Linked DNA regions of Homo sapiens: region 2 is linked to region 1. Evidence: promoter capture Hi-C in human tissues and cell types (Jung and others, 2019). All regions are on one chromosome and are shown on one strand. The core of a region is centred on a gene start or on the middle of the fragment in contact, and the rest is flanking DNA. Distances in the headings are between cores, read along the strand shown. Region 1 holds the start of SYNDIG1 (synapse differentiation inducing 1). Region 2 overlaps LOC105372577 (a long non-coding RNA gene).

Region 1 (7,789 bases), core at 2,341-4,840:
GTTTTGCTAGTCATTTACCCCTAGTGTTCTGCTGGTGTTGTCAAATTAACACCCCACATACTTCAGTCCTTGTCACCTTTACCCACTCATTCAAAGAATTTTGCTGATAATGTGACATCTGTTCAAACTATGGGCCACAGCGGTACATTTACTCTGAGATGGAGCCTGCATTTTCCAATGTGCATGAGGGTCTGAAAGGCCAATGTGAGGGGCACAGGGTCAAGCTGGAGTCATGAAAAGACAAGGTTTTATTTGGGGATGGGTGACAGGACATAAAACTGCTCACCTACAAGATGGTTATTCATCTTACAAAAGGTTAACTAAGGACACCTTTAAATAGTGCACTTTATAAAGGTATTCAAAAGTCTGACTGACTCCTCTAAGAACATCACTGACAATTTTTAGGAACTGCTTTTATATACAGGAAAGCACAGAGGTGTGCAGAATGGGAGGGGGCTGGTGGAGGGAGGGCCTCCCCTCCCACTGCCTCCAGTGCCTCCCTGCGTGCCATGCCTCTCCAGACAGTAGAAGTCACAGTGAATATCACATCTCAGCAAGCACAGAGCCTTTTCAGAGGGCAGAGCAGGTGTGACCTGGAGGATGACCAAACATTTTCTAATTAGACAATGAAATGTTCAGTACTCTCCATGAACCTCAGAATAGCACCGACTAGTGCCTCAGATAGAAATCTTACATAAGAAAACAACTTTCTATTCTCTGATAATAGTAATAACTCCCTAGAAAATACGATTTAAAATTAATGAGAAAAATAACTCAAGTCTGGTAGAGCACTTTTAATTTATCTCAATGCTAAATGTGGAAGAAATTAATTGCTTATAATTTTTGAACTGAGTTTTAAAGTTTTTATCAAAAAAAATTCTCTTGCCTATCATGGCTCAACCAGAATCGTGTTCACGCCCTTCATGAATTAGAATGAGTCTGTTCCTATTGCTAACATATCTGTCTTCCCAGGATCCGGACTTGTCTTTCCTTCTTCAATATCTCACCCCTGTACGCCTCAAGTAAAGTTGGCAGGTTTTCCTTTTCTACCCTAAAATGGGAATGGAGGGGGCCTTCATTTTTATTTTAATATCACCTATACTCTAATGGGGTTATTAAAAACTGACATTTCTGATAGGTGAACATAAAATGAAATGTCATCAGCTGGAGATACAGAGGGATGTGTTTAGAGGTGAAGTGAGTTTGGAATGGTTTTTTTATTTTTTTGAAGTTTACATCAAAGTGATTTTGTATTTTTACTGAATTGGTTTATTTTATCAGATATTAACAAATTATAATTGTGTATGTTTATGGGGTACAAAATGATGCTGTGATATGCGTATACAATGTGTCATGACTGAATGGAGCTAATTAACCTACTATCCAATACTTAGCATTTTGGAATGAGTTTTGAAATACTTCATCAAACAAGGCTTCCAAAACTCTGTGGCCTCCAAAACTCTACCAAAGGTAACTGCAGGTGGTGACTGGGTGGGGGGTACACAAAGCTTCAGTGCTATTCTCTGTCTGTCACTGTGTACAACTGAAATTTTCCATAATAAAAAAGTTTAAAAATAGGTTTCTCCATCTTTTCTTTCCTTTTTTTTTTTTTTTTTAACAAGGCCCTCTTGATTATGAGGATTCCGTTTTCAGGCAGGAAATGGGGACAGGGTGAGAGAGGGCGCCGATCAGCTACTGTCAGGCTTGCTCCTTGCAAAGGGGCGGGCGGTGGAGAGAGAGGGGAGGGAGGAATTAAGGGGATCGCGCTTCCTCAGGGCCCACAGGCCTCATACCTGTGGTGTGGACCTCCAAAAGAACGGGCCACACCACCGCCAAACACAGAGCACGCAATTCAACTAAAAATTCGACTTCAGTTTCTTCCTGTCCGCGCCAGAACGGACATCAGACTGCCCCCCGCCCGCCTCCTAGCAGCTCCTTTTCACTTCGGCTGCTGCCAGGATTTCGCGACCTAGACCCCTCTTTGAAGACCACTTCCGATCCCCGACGCGGCAGCCCTTGAGGTCGCAGCCTAGCACGGAGAAGTTGGCCGGCTCTGGGGGCTATGAGGCTGCTCACCCCACAGGCGCAGGTCTACGCAGCACACACACCACCTCCTTCTTTGGACTCAGACCAAACACGCTGGGCTGTAGGAGGGAGACGGACAGATACACGGACTCGCGCGCGCACGCCTCACCAACTGATTCCAACCAGAAAACGGAGCCACTGTGTAACGCCCAGCCCCCCTCCCCTCGACACCCCCAATCAGCCAAGCCTTCGGCCGGTGTCTGCTGCACTAAACACCAGGACGTGGCCAGGGAAGGCGCAGGCATCGGTCCGAGCCAGGAGCGCCGCGGCGCCAGCGCATCTGACGTCGCAGGAGGACTGTGCGCACCTGAAGTCTGGGTGCCAAGCGCCCAAGCCTCTGCGTGCAACGAAACCCCCAAAGGAAAACAGGACTACCAGAAGACCCCTTCCTCTCGTCTTTCAGAAACGCCAAGCGGCCCCTCTGGCCGCCTCCTCAAAGCTCGGCTGCCAGAGCCACTCTAGTAGGGTCTTGCAAAAAGCGCATAGGGACAAAGCCCCTTCCCTAAGAAAAGTGCCCAACTCATCCAGTGAGCCATTCCTTCCTCCTCACTGCCCAGAGAGTGCACATGAAGAGGCAGAAATCACGACTAGGAAAAAGCGAGATTCAAATTGGAACCAAAAAAGCGTATGTGCTCGCTCCCATCTCGGCGCCAGGGCTGTGGCTCCCAGGGCTGCAGGCTGTCGCGGCTGCCAGGGGCCAGACAGCTTTTGAAGGCAGGTCTTGTCCTGGCTAGAGGAAAGAGGCTCCAGGAGTCTCTGCTTCCGCCACGGTCGCCCGTCGGGATTCCCCATCCCAAGCGCGCTTGCACCTTGCCTGCCGCTCCGCTCGGAGAATTAGTCTGTTTCCCTTCCTACTCCCAAACAGACCTAGGTCCCCAGCTCCGTGGCCGCCCGGCTCACCAGCCCTGGCTGGTCTCCTTCGGGTCACTCCGAGGGGCAGCCCGAACCCGCAGAGCCTTGGCCCGCCGCGCGCCCTCATGGCCCTGCTGGGCAGCCTGGCTCCGCTACGCTCTCAGTTCTCGGTCTCACCAGCTCCCATCGAATTCGCACAGCAGCCCCTTCGCGTCTCCCGGGGTGGCAAGGCACCAAGGTGCAGCCCAGGCCAGCATCGACCCCTTCCTGGGCATTTTCTCTGCCGGCTCAGCTCCCCCTCCCGCCCTGCGACCCCGTGTCTCCCAAGTCTCGTCGCGGCGACCACCCGGACTTACCGCGGGCGCCACGCCGCCGCCGGGTCTGCGCGCTCCGAGGCGGAGCCAGGACTAGGACACCCGCCAGCGCAGGGCAGCCTCCAGCTCCCGCCGCCAGCTCGCGGCCCCTGCCGCGACCCCGCCCACTGCGGGCCCCTCCGCCCGCCCCCGCGGCCGGGAGGTCTGGACTTACCTCCGGGACAAGGTGACCCGGCAAGTGCGCCCAAGCGGCCGCCCGCGACTCTCCCGAGCGAGCGAGCGTGCGGGGCGGTGCGGCGCCCGCCTCTGCTCCTCCGCTGCCAGGCTCTCTCCTCCTCTGCCCTCCCCTCAGCGCCGCTCTGCTCCCCACGCCTCTCCCCGCCCTGCGCTCTCCGCCTGCGCCCCCGGCTGCCCCGAGCGCCGGGCGCGGGGCAGCGGCGGCAGCCCGAGCGGCGGGGAGTCGGGAGCTGCGGCGCCGGGGCGGAGCCCAACCCTCTCGGCCCCCGGGAGAGGAAGGGGTGCGGGGAGACTCTCGTCGCGCTCGCCTGGCCGGCAGGCTGGGCGAGGGGCGCCCTGGGGCGAGCCGCTCCTCTTCGCTTGCCGAGCCTGCCGACGCGCGTGCTGGAGGCAGCGGGCGCGGGCCCCGGGGGAGGAGGGCAGGGAAGAGAAGGAGGGCGCAGCCCGCGCGAAGGTGGCCACCAACTTTGGCCCAGACCAGGGAGGCCCTAGCGGGGGATCGCGTCCAGATGGTGGCCCGCGGCCAGTGTCTGACAATGTGAGGGCCACAGAGGCTGGGGGCGGGGGATAGCTGCGGGGGACTAGGAGGACAGGAATTTGCTGCCCGACTAGAGGAAGGGATGGCTCCCCTCGGTCCTAAAGGCCTCCCCAGGCTGCGGTTCGGTTTTGAGGTTAAAAATGACCCAATTTATGGATCCGGCGAATGTTCAAGTCCTGACCAGCTAAGCCCTGGAGGAGCAAGCGGGCGCGGAGTTCAGACTCCAGAGACCCCCTCAGCCCTGAGCCAGCCTGTTGTTGGCCCATGGCGGGCCCGCCCCAGTTGGAATTGGAAGGAAACTAGGGCGGTGGTAAGACAGTCTGCGTTCTAGGAGCGGAGGAGGTGGTGTTTGCAGTGTAGATTTCATAGAGAATCAACTCTGAAAAAAAGATTTACCAGAAAGGGGGTCAAAAGTTATTTAGAAAAGCATCTGTGCGCCCCCGTTTCAACACTAGGCAGAGGCCCCAGTCCTGCCACCCGCAGGCTGGTACACTGGTGGTCAGAGAAGGTTAAGCTCCAGAGTTCCATGGCTCCCAACCTTCCTAGAGCCCTCCCTCCTGCCTGGTAACCCACCATTGCGCTGCGTCTTGCCCAGGTGTCCTGGTGGGCAGGGGCAGGAGTTAAAGGTGGTGCCAGGAACAAGAGGTCCTTCCTATATTCCTTTCAGGGGACGTGGCTTCTAGGGAGCCTCCGCAGCCCAAAGAGAATGCTGAAATGCAGAGTGCCAGAAGGAGGCATTTGAAGGAGGCGCGGATGAGTGGAACCAGTACTATCACCTGAATTCCATCCCCGTCTTCATGTCTGCAGCCCCGCGAGACACACCTGATGTTTCTTCCTTTAGGTCCCCAGAGCTGCAAGGCTGTGGTCTGGAACACTCAGAAACGGGCACTGTTCATTTCTCCCATCTAGCAGAACTTCTCAACTTGGAAGAACATGCCACCACACTTTAATAAAGCAGCTTACCTTTCCGGAGTCCTTTCCTGAATAAAGCAGTTTCCCATCTAAGCCATTAGGTTGAGCAGATACTATTAGACCCATTTGAGGTGGAGAGTCATTGATCCCATTTATCAAATGAAGAAATTGAAGTTTAAAAAGGGTAATTGAGATTGTGTAGCCACCCAATGTGCAGGAGTAGCCTGAAGCTCGGGTTCCCTGCCTCTAAGTCACTGCTCTTTCACTTGCCCAGCCTCTGGATTGACTTTTGAGGCAGATTTTGTTTTGACGAGAGAACACCTGCCTGGGCTGCAGCCAGGACTCGCCTTTGTCTCCTGGGTGCTGTTTGAATTTAATCGCGCCACTGCATTCCAGCCTGGGCGACAGAGTGAGACTCCGTCTCAAAAAAAAAAAAAAAAAAGAAAGAAACAGAAGGTGGACTCTTCCCCCATGACACACACACACACACACACACACACACACACACATCTTTCTGTAATTCAAAGGGGCCTTACACTTCATTTCAAAAGAAACTCACAGGGCCAGGACGTGTATGTAAAGAAACAGATGTCACCCACTCCTGGCAGATGCAGCAGCTCATTAAGGGCTCCTGGTGGGAAGCTCAGTTGCCCAGCACACGATGGGCAGTTTCTCTTACCTGTGATTCCCTTGTTGTGGCTTGAAATATTATCTGGTATGCTGTGATATAGCATTGAAATAAAGACTTTCAAGAAAGTCAGTGAGGAGCTGTCACATATTAGGCAATGGGGCACAGTAGAAATTGCCAAGTCTCTTGGAAACTGGGGTAACCTTCTCAACAATGCTTATCTCTCAGAGGATGTTACAGAACTTTCAGAGCTAAGAGAGGTCTGTGGGCCACCTCCTGTGCTGGGAAGAACTGTCACTCAGGCACCGAGCAAGCTGCCACACCTTCCAGCCAACATTTTTTTTTAACTTTCAACTTTTGTTTTAAGTTCAGGGGTACGTGTGCAGGATGTGCAGTTTTGTTACATAGGTAAATGTGTTTTTTGAGACAGAGTGTTGTCCTGTGGCCCAGGCTGCAGTGCACTGGCACAATCATGGTTCACTGCAGCCTCAACTTCCTGGACTCAAGTGATCCTTTCACCTCAGCCTCCTGAGTAGTTGGGACTACAGACACACCACCAAGCCTGGCAAATTTTTGTATTTGTGGAGACATGGATTTTGTCATGTTACCCAGGCTGGTTTCAAACTGCTCAAGTGATCCTCTTGCCTCAGCCTCCCAAAGTGCTGGGATTACAGGTGTGAGCTACCAAGCCCGGCTCCAGCCAACTTTACATGCCTAGAGGTAGGTGATTTGATGAGGGGAAACACAGATTCAGTACTTTTTCAAATGGGAAATATTCCTCTTTATGTCTTGAACTCAAAAGCTTTTGACTGTGGGGTTACAAACAGCCCTGCTATGCACTGTCTGGGGGTCAACAGTGCCCTTCTAGAAAGCATCTCCAGGTTACCCATGTAAAATGCTCGGCCTCAAACATTGCTTGCAATACCAAAGGTAACAAATCACATACGCAATTTTAAAGCTATGCAATTAACCTGGTTTTTCTTTCCCCCCCAAAATCTGTTATTAAAGGGACTTAAGTGGATGACATATAGGAACTGAAAAGCGGCAGTGTCTTGCTAAAGTTGAATCTTGTTGACTTAGAAGTGTAGAAAGACATCCATTCAGATGCTCAATCTAGACATGATAGGAGGGGCTGGAAAGAAAGCATGAATTTCTATCAAAAGTGAATGGAAAGTGATACAAAACCTAGAAAAATGTCTGAGACAATGTTGACATGAAAGTTTAAACAAGAGAAAAGATGCAAGAGAAGGTCAGAAGGCTAGAGTCGGTTGGGACCTTGGCAGTCATCTAGTCCAGCCCTCTGATTCCACAGGTGAGGAAATGGTTACAGCGAGGCTGAGTAGAGGGGTCAAGGGCATGTCCGGGTCTGCTCAGTTCCAACATCAGCAGTCTTGCCCGTGCATTCATTACAGCTCTTTGAAAAGAAATAAGGAAGAGAGAAAGATAATATGTTTTAAGCAACTTCTATAGTGCTGGTTGTATCAGTTATCTATTGCTGCTGAACAAACTACTCTGAAACTCAGTGGCTTAAAATGATAATCACTGATTTGCTCACAATGCTGTGGGTTGATGATTTGGGCTGAGCCATCTGGGATGGATTGCCTCTGCCTCACACTGCTGTCTGGGCTCACTCAGGCATCTGCGGTCAGCTGGCAGCCAAAGACCTTACATTTCTGGGAGTAGACTGGCTGTGGGCCATGTCTGTCCTTTTCCTGTAGGCTGGCTCAGAGTTCTTCACCCAGTGGTGGCTTCAGGGTGCCCGACAGCAATAAGGGAAGGCAAACCTCAATGTGCATGGCTCTTCAGGGTGACGTCACATCATCTCATTGACCAAAGCAGGTCAAATGGCCCAGGCCAGATTCAGGAGTTGGGGAGATATCCTGTACTCTTTGGCTATAAAGTCACATTGGAAATGGGCTTGCAGTGAGTGACAGGAGGAATCTGTGGCCTTTTTTTTCAATTGACCATGTCTAGAAATGAGATAAGTTCTTTATAAATATAACCTCATTGAATCTTAAGGTCCGTGGGGCCAGCCAGAATGATCGCAGGAAGATGAAGAAGCTGAATTTTGAGAACTGAGTGGCTCTCCTGTCTTCACATTACTTGTGAGAAGTGGGGTGGGATCCAAAGTAGCCAACATTAATAGGGGGTGTCTGTCAGGCATCAGCTGAATGCTTCCCTGCTAGGGTAGAATCTCACACCTCAGAGCCAGCCAAGCCTGGG
Region 2 (7,789 bases), core at 2,879-5,378, 130 kb after region 1:
CACTAGTTAGCAGCCTACCAGGGTAATAAAGGAGAGAGTGGGTGGGGGCTGAGAACAGCATGGTGACGGGGAGATGTGGATTTTCTTTGAAGGTGGAGCACATAGGCTTTCCTAATGGATTAGCTGTTGGGTGTGAGAGAAGGAAATATATCAAGATGACTCCAAGCTTTGTGGCGTAACAGGACGGATGGAGTTGACCTCACTTTGGATGAGGGAGGCAGCATGTGGAACTGCTTCCTGGGGAGCTCAGACATGCATGTTTGGACCTGCAGAATGGAGCCATTTTAAGCAGACATTGAATATATAACTAGATGAGTCAGAGAGAAAGACGTTGCTCTTCCCTATTCAGGGTTGAAACAGAGGCTGAGAAAGAAAGGTTCAGTTGAACCCCGGCTCTGGGCTGTCCAGCTCTGGACGATTGGGAGCCTGTCCCCTGCTGTGGCACTAGCACAATGGGCAGAACTGGGGCTGGCTCCAGACGGTGGAGCAGGCTAGTGGGTCCATCAAACAACTGCAGTATTCTGGAAATTAAGTGGAGCCCCTTCAATTTAATCAGCGAAGATGCACACCTGAAGTATGTTTGGCCCTGTGGCCTCCACCTGGTTACAGCCTCCCAGGTGCGGGTTGGAGGAGCCACTGGTTAGCCAGGGCTGGATGTCACTGTGGCAGGCTAATCTGTTTTTGTATCCCCTTCACTCGTTTAGAATGTCTTACCTTGAGGATGTCACTGGCCACCTTGCCACCACCATGTCCTCACTTTAAATTGGGAATAGTGGTGACCCTTAGCTCACAGCACTGTTTGAGGAATGGGCGAGATGTTTCTTGAGCACAGCGGAGTCTGCCACTTAGCAAGTGGTTCGTAGATGGGAATTGGAGGAGTTCTTTTTTATTTTAAGAGACAGTCTCACTGTGGCCCAGGCTGGAGTGCAGTGATGTGGTCACAGCTCACTGCAGCCTCGACTTCCTGGGCTCAGGTGATCTTCCTACCTCAGCCTCCCAAGTGCTGCCACCATGCCTGGCTAAGTTTTAATATTTCTTGTAAAGACGGGGTCTCACTGTATTGCTCAGGCCAGGTCTTGAACTCCTGGCCTCAAGCACTCTTCAGGCTTTGCCATCCCAAAGTGCTGGGATTACAGGTGTGAGCCACTCCTCCAGGTTTGGGGTGATTATTATTATTATTATTTTAATAGAATGCGTTTTTTTCTGAGAGCACTTCCTCTAATTTCATAAACTGGGAAAGTGTTTCATTATGTGACTTCTCGTGATGCTTCTGGGTGTGTAGGTTTGCGATATTTTGGGGATTTTGTTTGTTAATAAAGCCAGCTTTTAGGTCTCAGTTGACAATTATAAATTAGCAAAAATACCTCTGTGGCATCAACTATCCATAGCACTCTCTAAAACAGCAGGAGAATGAAATCCAAAGAGATAAAATGGGGAAAGTTGTATCATTTGGGACAATATACTGAGAAAACATCACGAAATTTACACATGATCAAGCCCTCAAATGCTCAACTAACAGATACAGTGGAGCAGGGAGGTGTGAAGAAGCATTTTTGAGCAGCTTCTCTGGGCCAAGATTCATACTAAAGCATCTGATAATTCACCCTCATGAAGGTCTTCAAGGACATCATCAATGTTGTTTATCTGACTAGGGATCTGCATCTGAGAGACCGTCAGTAGTGTGGGCAGGGGCCTTGCCTGAGTGAAGCACCAGCCAGGGCCTGAATTGGCTGTCTGTCTTCACACTCCTGCTCCCCTCTGACCTCACTGAGGGGCTGCCAGGGCCATGGAGGGGCGGCGGGGCTGCCGGGCCAAGCTGTCCTCAGTGGGCAGGAGTCTATCACCCAGCATTTTGGTTCCATCCATGAAAGATTTTTGTGCTACTGGTCTGCACTACATGATCTTGGAATGGAAGAAAAGAGTCAGTGTCATTGTGGGACAGAGTTCTTCATTGCTGGGAGAGGAGTGGGGTTTTGCTTCACCGGTGTAGAAATAGTAAGACTCTATTTTTGCACTTTCTTTCAGTGTTCACCAGCAGAAACAGTAGCTTTATTTTTTAAATGCATCCCCCTGTGCATTAAAACTTTCTCTTCAGGTGCTATTTTTTCCTATTAGTCCTCTTCTGTGTTTTGTGACATCCAACTGTCTCAAGACTATCCAGCTCAGGGAAATGAGGCTTCCTGCAGCCCTAGCCTGTGGCCATCCTATTCAACCACATCCTTTAGCCTCAGTTCCTGCTGAAGCTGACTCAAGTCTCCTGGAACCTGCCGGGTCACAGGGCTGCCCGGGAGGCGTGCTGAAAACATTTCATCCTTCTCACGTACCTTCCTTTTCCCTGCAAGACACAAACTGAACAGAAGGGACCACTTCCTTTCAACTAAGAGAATAAATGCTGGTCAGAAACAATCTCATCACCCCTTTGAAACCAGGGGCTTGGCACTAAAACTATTTACAACAGGCCACAGAATGAACTCAGAACCCTCCCATGAGTGCCCTTGGAAGCACATTTTCTAAACTGCTTTAGAGGGAAAAAAGAAACCAGCTACATGACTGCTACTCAGAGCTTTCACTTAAATGATAATTTACTGATCTTTTAAGTTAACCTTACAAAAATCTTCTCACATTTGGGTTTTTTCCTCCTTGCAAGATTTGGCACCTTATCTCTGTAAAGTTCCATTAGCCCCTGCTCTGTGTAGCCCTGCTATCTCAGCTCCCGTTTGAATTAGTACACTTCTTAAAGTTTTATTTTGTTTTTAATTGACACGTAATAATTGTACATATTTATGGGGTGAAGCGTTATGTTTTGACACATGTATACATTGTGTAATGATCAAATCAGGGTAATGAGTGTATCTATCATCTCAAACACTCATCACTTTTTGTAGTGAGAGCATTCAAAATTCTCTCTTCTAGCTGTTTTGAAATATACAATACATTATTTTTAACTCTAGTCACCCTAGTGTGCAATGGAATACAAGATCGAATTCTCCTCATCTAACTGTAACTTGGTAACCATGGAGCAGCCTCACTGCGTCCCCCCCCTCCCCATCACTCTCCCCAGCCTCTAGGGAAGCAAACAACAAAGGGGAGAAAATATTTGCAAACTGACATTACACACCTGACAATATCTGGAGTTAATATCTGGAATATATAAGGAACTCAAACAACAGCAAAAAAAATTCTGATATTAAACGGATTTTAAAATAATCTGATTTTAAACACCTCAATGGACATTTCTCGAAAGAAGACATACAAATGGCCAACAGGTGTATGACAAAATGCTCAAGATCATTAATGGGTACAAAGATTAGGTTAGGTAGAAGAAATAAGACCTAGTGTTCAAGAGATCAGTAGGCGACTATAGTTAACAATGATCCATTGTACAATTCAAAATAGCTAGAAGAGAAGAATTTGAATGTTTCTGGCATAAAGAAAAGATAAATGTGTAAGGCGATGGATATCCCAGTTACCCTGATTTGATCTTTACACTTTATAGGATTGTACCAAAATATCAAATGTACACCAAAAATATGTACATCTATTATGCATACATTTAAAAAACACAATGAGTTTTCACCTCGCCAGAGTTAGAATGCTATTATTAAAAAGACACAAATTAACAAATGCTGGTGAGAATGTGGAGAAATGGGAGCTCATATACTGTTAGTGGGAATGTAAATTAGTACAGCCATCTGGACAACAGTGTGGAGGTTCCTGAAAAGATTAAAAATGGAACTACCATATGACCCAACAATCCTACTACTTGGAATGTATATAAAAATAAAAGTAGTGTGTAAGAGATATCGTACCCCATGTTTATTGCAGTGCTATTCATAATAGCCAAGATATAGACTCAATGTAAGTGTCCATCAACAGATGGATGGATTTTAGAAGTGGTATAGATACACAATGGAATACTATTCAGACATTCAAAAGGGTGAAATCCAATCATGCGTGATGATACGGATGAGCCTAGAAGACATTACGTTAAGTGAAATAAGCCCAGCACAGAAAGACAAATACTGCCTCATCTCACTCATATGTGAAATCTAAAAAAGTTGATCTCTTACAAGTAAAGAGTAGAATACATTTTTTTATTTTAGACTAGTTTCAGATTTGCGAAAGTTTCAAAGATAGTACAGAGTTCCCATTTACCCCTCACCCCGTTTCCTCAATTATTAACAACTTACATTAGTATAATATATTTATTGCAATTAATGAAATAGTATTGATAAGTTATTATTAACGTCCTTATTGTAATTATAATTATAATTAACTTAATTTAATTATAGTTAAAGTCCTTACTTTATTGAGATTACCTTAGTTTTTACCTATGTGTGTATGTGTGTGTGCATATATGTGTGTGTGTGGTGTGTGTGTATGTGAGGTGTGTTTGTGTTTGTGTATGTGTGTGTCTTTGTGTGTATGTTTGTGTACGTGTGGTGTGTGTGTATGTGTTTGTGTGTCTGTGTATATGTGTGGTGTGTTTGTATGTGTATGTGTGTGTATGTGTGTATTTTTGTGTGTGTGGTGTGTGCGTGTGTGTGGTGTATGTGTGTGTGGTGTATGTGTATGTGTGTGTATGTGTGTATTTGTGTGTGTGTGTGGTGTATGTGTGTGTATGTGTGTGTTTGTGTGTGTTTGTGTGTGTGTGTGCTCCAGAATCCCATCCAGGATATTATATTGCATTTTGTAATCATGTACATTTAGGCAAATCCTGGCTGTAACAGTTTCTTATAATTTGCTTGTTTTTGATGACAATGTCAGTTTTCTTGCTTTCTGTTGAAACTACTATTTTTTTTAGCATGCTTTCTATTGGGGTTTATATGTTTTTCTCATCATTAGAGAAGTCATGGAGTTATGAGTTTTGGAAAGAAAAACAACAGGGCTGAAGTGTCATTCTGATTACATCATGTCAAGGGTACATGTCATAACAGAGAATCTATTTTTCTTGTCTGCTTCATTTTCTAGAGGCTGCCTGTACTCTGTGACTTGTGGTCCCCTTTTACCTTCAAAGCTCCCAGTGGCTGATAGAGACTTCCTCACATACCGTCACTCTGAAATGGACTCATCTTCTGCCTCTCTCTGCTACTTACAAGGACCCTTGTCATTAATTTGGGCCCAGCCAGATAATCTAGAATAATTTCTTCATTTTAAGGTCATCTAATTAGCAAATTTAATTTCTTCAGCAACTTTAATTTCCCTTAGCCAGTAACCTATCATATTCACAGGTTTCTGAGATTAAGATGAGGAGAGTTGAGATTAAGATGAGGAAAAAAATTAATCTGCCTACCACAAAACCCAAAACCTGGGTGTTAGATATATTTATTGCTGCTGGGGTATCATTGTTTCTAGACCCTCTCAGCAGATAGAGCAAGGAAATATATGTGTGTTTACTAACATCTATTTTTCTATCTTTATATTAAGCTAAATATAAATTTATGCTGATGTCTCCAACTCTAATCCAGCATCACATGAGTTCTAGCCGTTGATTTTCTACAACATTCCACTCCAGCAGTGAGAAACCTAGCTCCACCTTCTGCCATCAGTTTACTCATTTGTTCCATTGAAGTTTACCTGTACACTGGTTTCAGAACCATTTACCCATGTGCCCCATTGGAGACAATTTTATTAACTAGAACACAGTGCTGATGGGCAGTTCCTTTGCCTTCTACATTCTATTCTTCTCTAAAATTACTTAGGTCAATACCTTGCACCTCTATACCTTTCAGTGAGATTATTTCATACATTTGTAATAACACTTTTTTGGGGGGTCATAATTTGAATTCTGGGATTTTCAGTCCCTTTGAATAGAAAGAACTGAAACAGAAGGGTAGGATGATAAATCAGAGTCCAAGGGTCCCTGAGAGTAGGGACATGTTATTTGTAAAAATAACCCAACAGCCCAGGCAGTATACCTTCCCAGATCGCCCAGCATCATCTTGACTGTCCATTGAACTACTAGTCATCTTTTAAAACCTGCTGTGAATGTAATCCTTTCCCTGAATGTCTTGTCTTCTTTTCATTTCCAAACTAAATGAACTCATGCTGTCCTAAGAATGAGACTGCTTCATTTTTAAGTCTGGGGTAAATAGACACCTGTGCATTCATTGCTGCTCTTCGTAAGTGAATCCCACTGTTTCCCCTTAGTGCTTCAAGCATGCCTGTCTTGTAAATCTTCACAGAATGTGTTCACATACCTATCTGTCCTGTTACCACAAGCATAGCCCAAGGACATGTTCTTTCTTTTTAGTATATGAAGACCACAGGTCTTCAAAAGGTAGTGATAAAGAAAAGTGTGCTCTAATATAACACATCAAAGAATGACTGCTCTTCCAGCTGTAGGTCTGCCACATCCTCATTCTCTGCCTCATACTTCACCATTTGTAGGGTTACTCCTGGTTCCTACATGTTAGTGGTGAGTGATCTATCCCATTATACACCCTGGGGCAATGACTGCTAGATAGAATTGCCAAGCCATTTATGTTGGGTAAAGGTGGGGAACTATTTTTCAGAATTATGATATTAGTGTCTCTTAGTACTGGTCAGGAACATAGTTATTTTTCAGAGCCAATTTCAAGGTTTATGTATCTTGTGATGTGTTTCGTCACTACTCTAGTTTCTACTAATACTTTCAATCTCTGAACTCTGAATGAGCTGCCTTTTTGTGCTTGACACTTGGGTCTTAAATACCATGCCACCATGCTGGTCACATTTCCATATGCTTATACCTCCTAAATTATGATAACTACAAGAGATTAATTCAATTTATTCTCCTCTCTAGCTTTCACAGTGCATGTCATGAAATTTTCTATGTAGTAAGTGACCAGTAAATTTATGAGGATTGAGAATGGAAAGATACCTATTGAAATCAATTCCCCATCAAATGAGTGCTGTTATCCTAAGAATACCTACCTTCTGGCCTTATCCAACACAACAGTAACACATATTCACCACTTCCCAACATGGAAAACCAAACACATGGGTTTCCACATTTTCATAGGTTGTAGGCAAGCCAGTGCCTTTACCTGGGCTCTGCCAAAAGCAGAGCCCAACACGTCGTTCTGGGTGCAGGTATTTTATTTGAGAGGTGATCCCAAGAAGGATAAATGAGGGGAAGGAGACAGGAACAGACAGGAAATCAATAGAAGGAACATAATTGAGCTGGTTATTGCTGTGGGCAATGGCATCTTTGTCTAACTAATGATCCTCTGAGAAGCCCTGTAGAATTCACCTAAAAGCTATCCCTTTAAAAATGGGACATTTATGCACTGGCTGCTGGTTCTCATTGGCAGTAATTGTGCCTGGGACACACACCAGCACTATCCCATCACCATTCCCCTCCCACATTCCCAGGCTGCACCTTTGGAGAGAGCCTTGAGGTAGACGCAGCTACCCCGCTGTGTGCCCTTGTGGTGGGAGCTGGCGACGTGCATGGAGCTACCTTGCACAGTTGCACTGACATTGATAGGGCCAAGGGGCTGCCTTGTGAGGGGCAAATGATGTCTGCTATGCAAAACATTGCTTGATTTTTTGAAAGATAAGCTGAGAGTCTAAAAAGCATCATCTAAGTCCCAACTGGGATCTGAGATGAGATTTTCATTTAAAAAAATTTATCCTAAGCATTAGTCTTAAGTGTGTACTCTTCTAAATTTGAGTTTCATAAAATTTGATGGATGTCATTCTAATTTAATATGATGCCTTGGCAGCAAACCACATGAATTTTTGAACATAGGAATTAGAGTATTTACCAAGGCCCAGTTTCTCAACTGGTGAGAGATTATGTTTG

Evidence for each region. Contacts are between HindIII fragments. The study calls those that stand out against the background at their distance.
Region 2: a fragment that was not itself captured here is called in contact with the fragment with the promoter of SYNDIG1 in region 1 in 2 of the 25 tissues and cell types used here (dorsolateral prefrontal cortex and mesendoderm cells).

The regions. Positions count from the first base shown.
Region 1 is chr20:24,465,430-24,473,218 of GRCh38, reverse strand. It overlaps SYNDIG1 (synapse differentiation inducing 1), which reads right to left and starts at 3,590. Exons shown (of 4, transcript NM_024893.3): 1 at 3,466-3,590. The HindIII fragment of the contact is 8,441 bases long and covers 174-7,789 here.
Region 2 is chr20:24,331,754-24,339,542 of GRCh38, reverse strand. All of the region lies in intron 1 of LOC105372577 (a long non-coding RNA gene), which reads left to right. Among named protein-coding and RNA genes, the nearest start is that of SYNDIG1, 130 kb to the left of the region's middle. The HindIII fragment of the contact is 8,287 bases long and covers 1-7,789 here.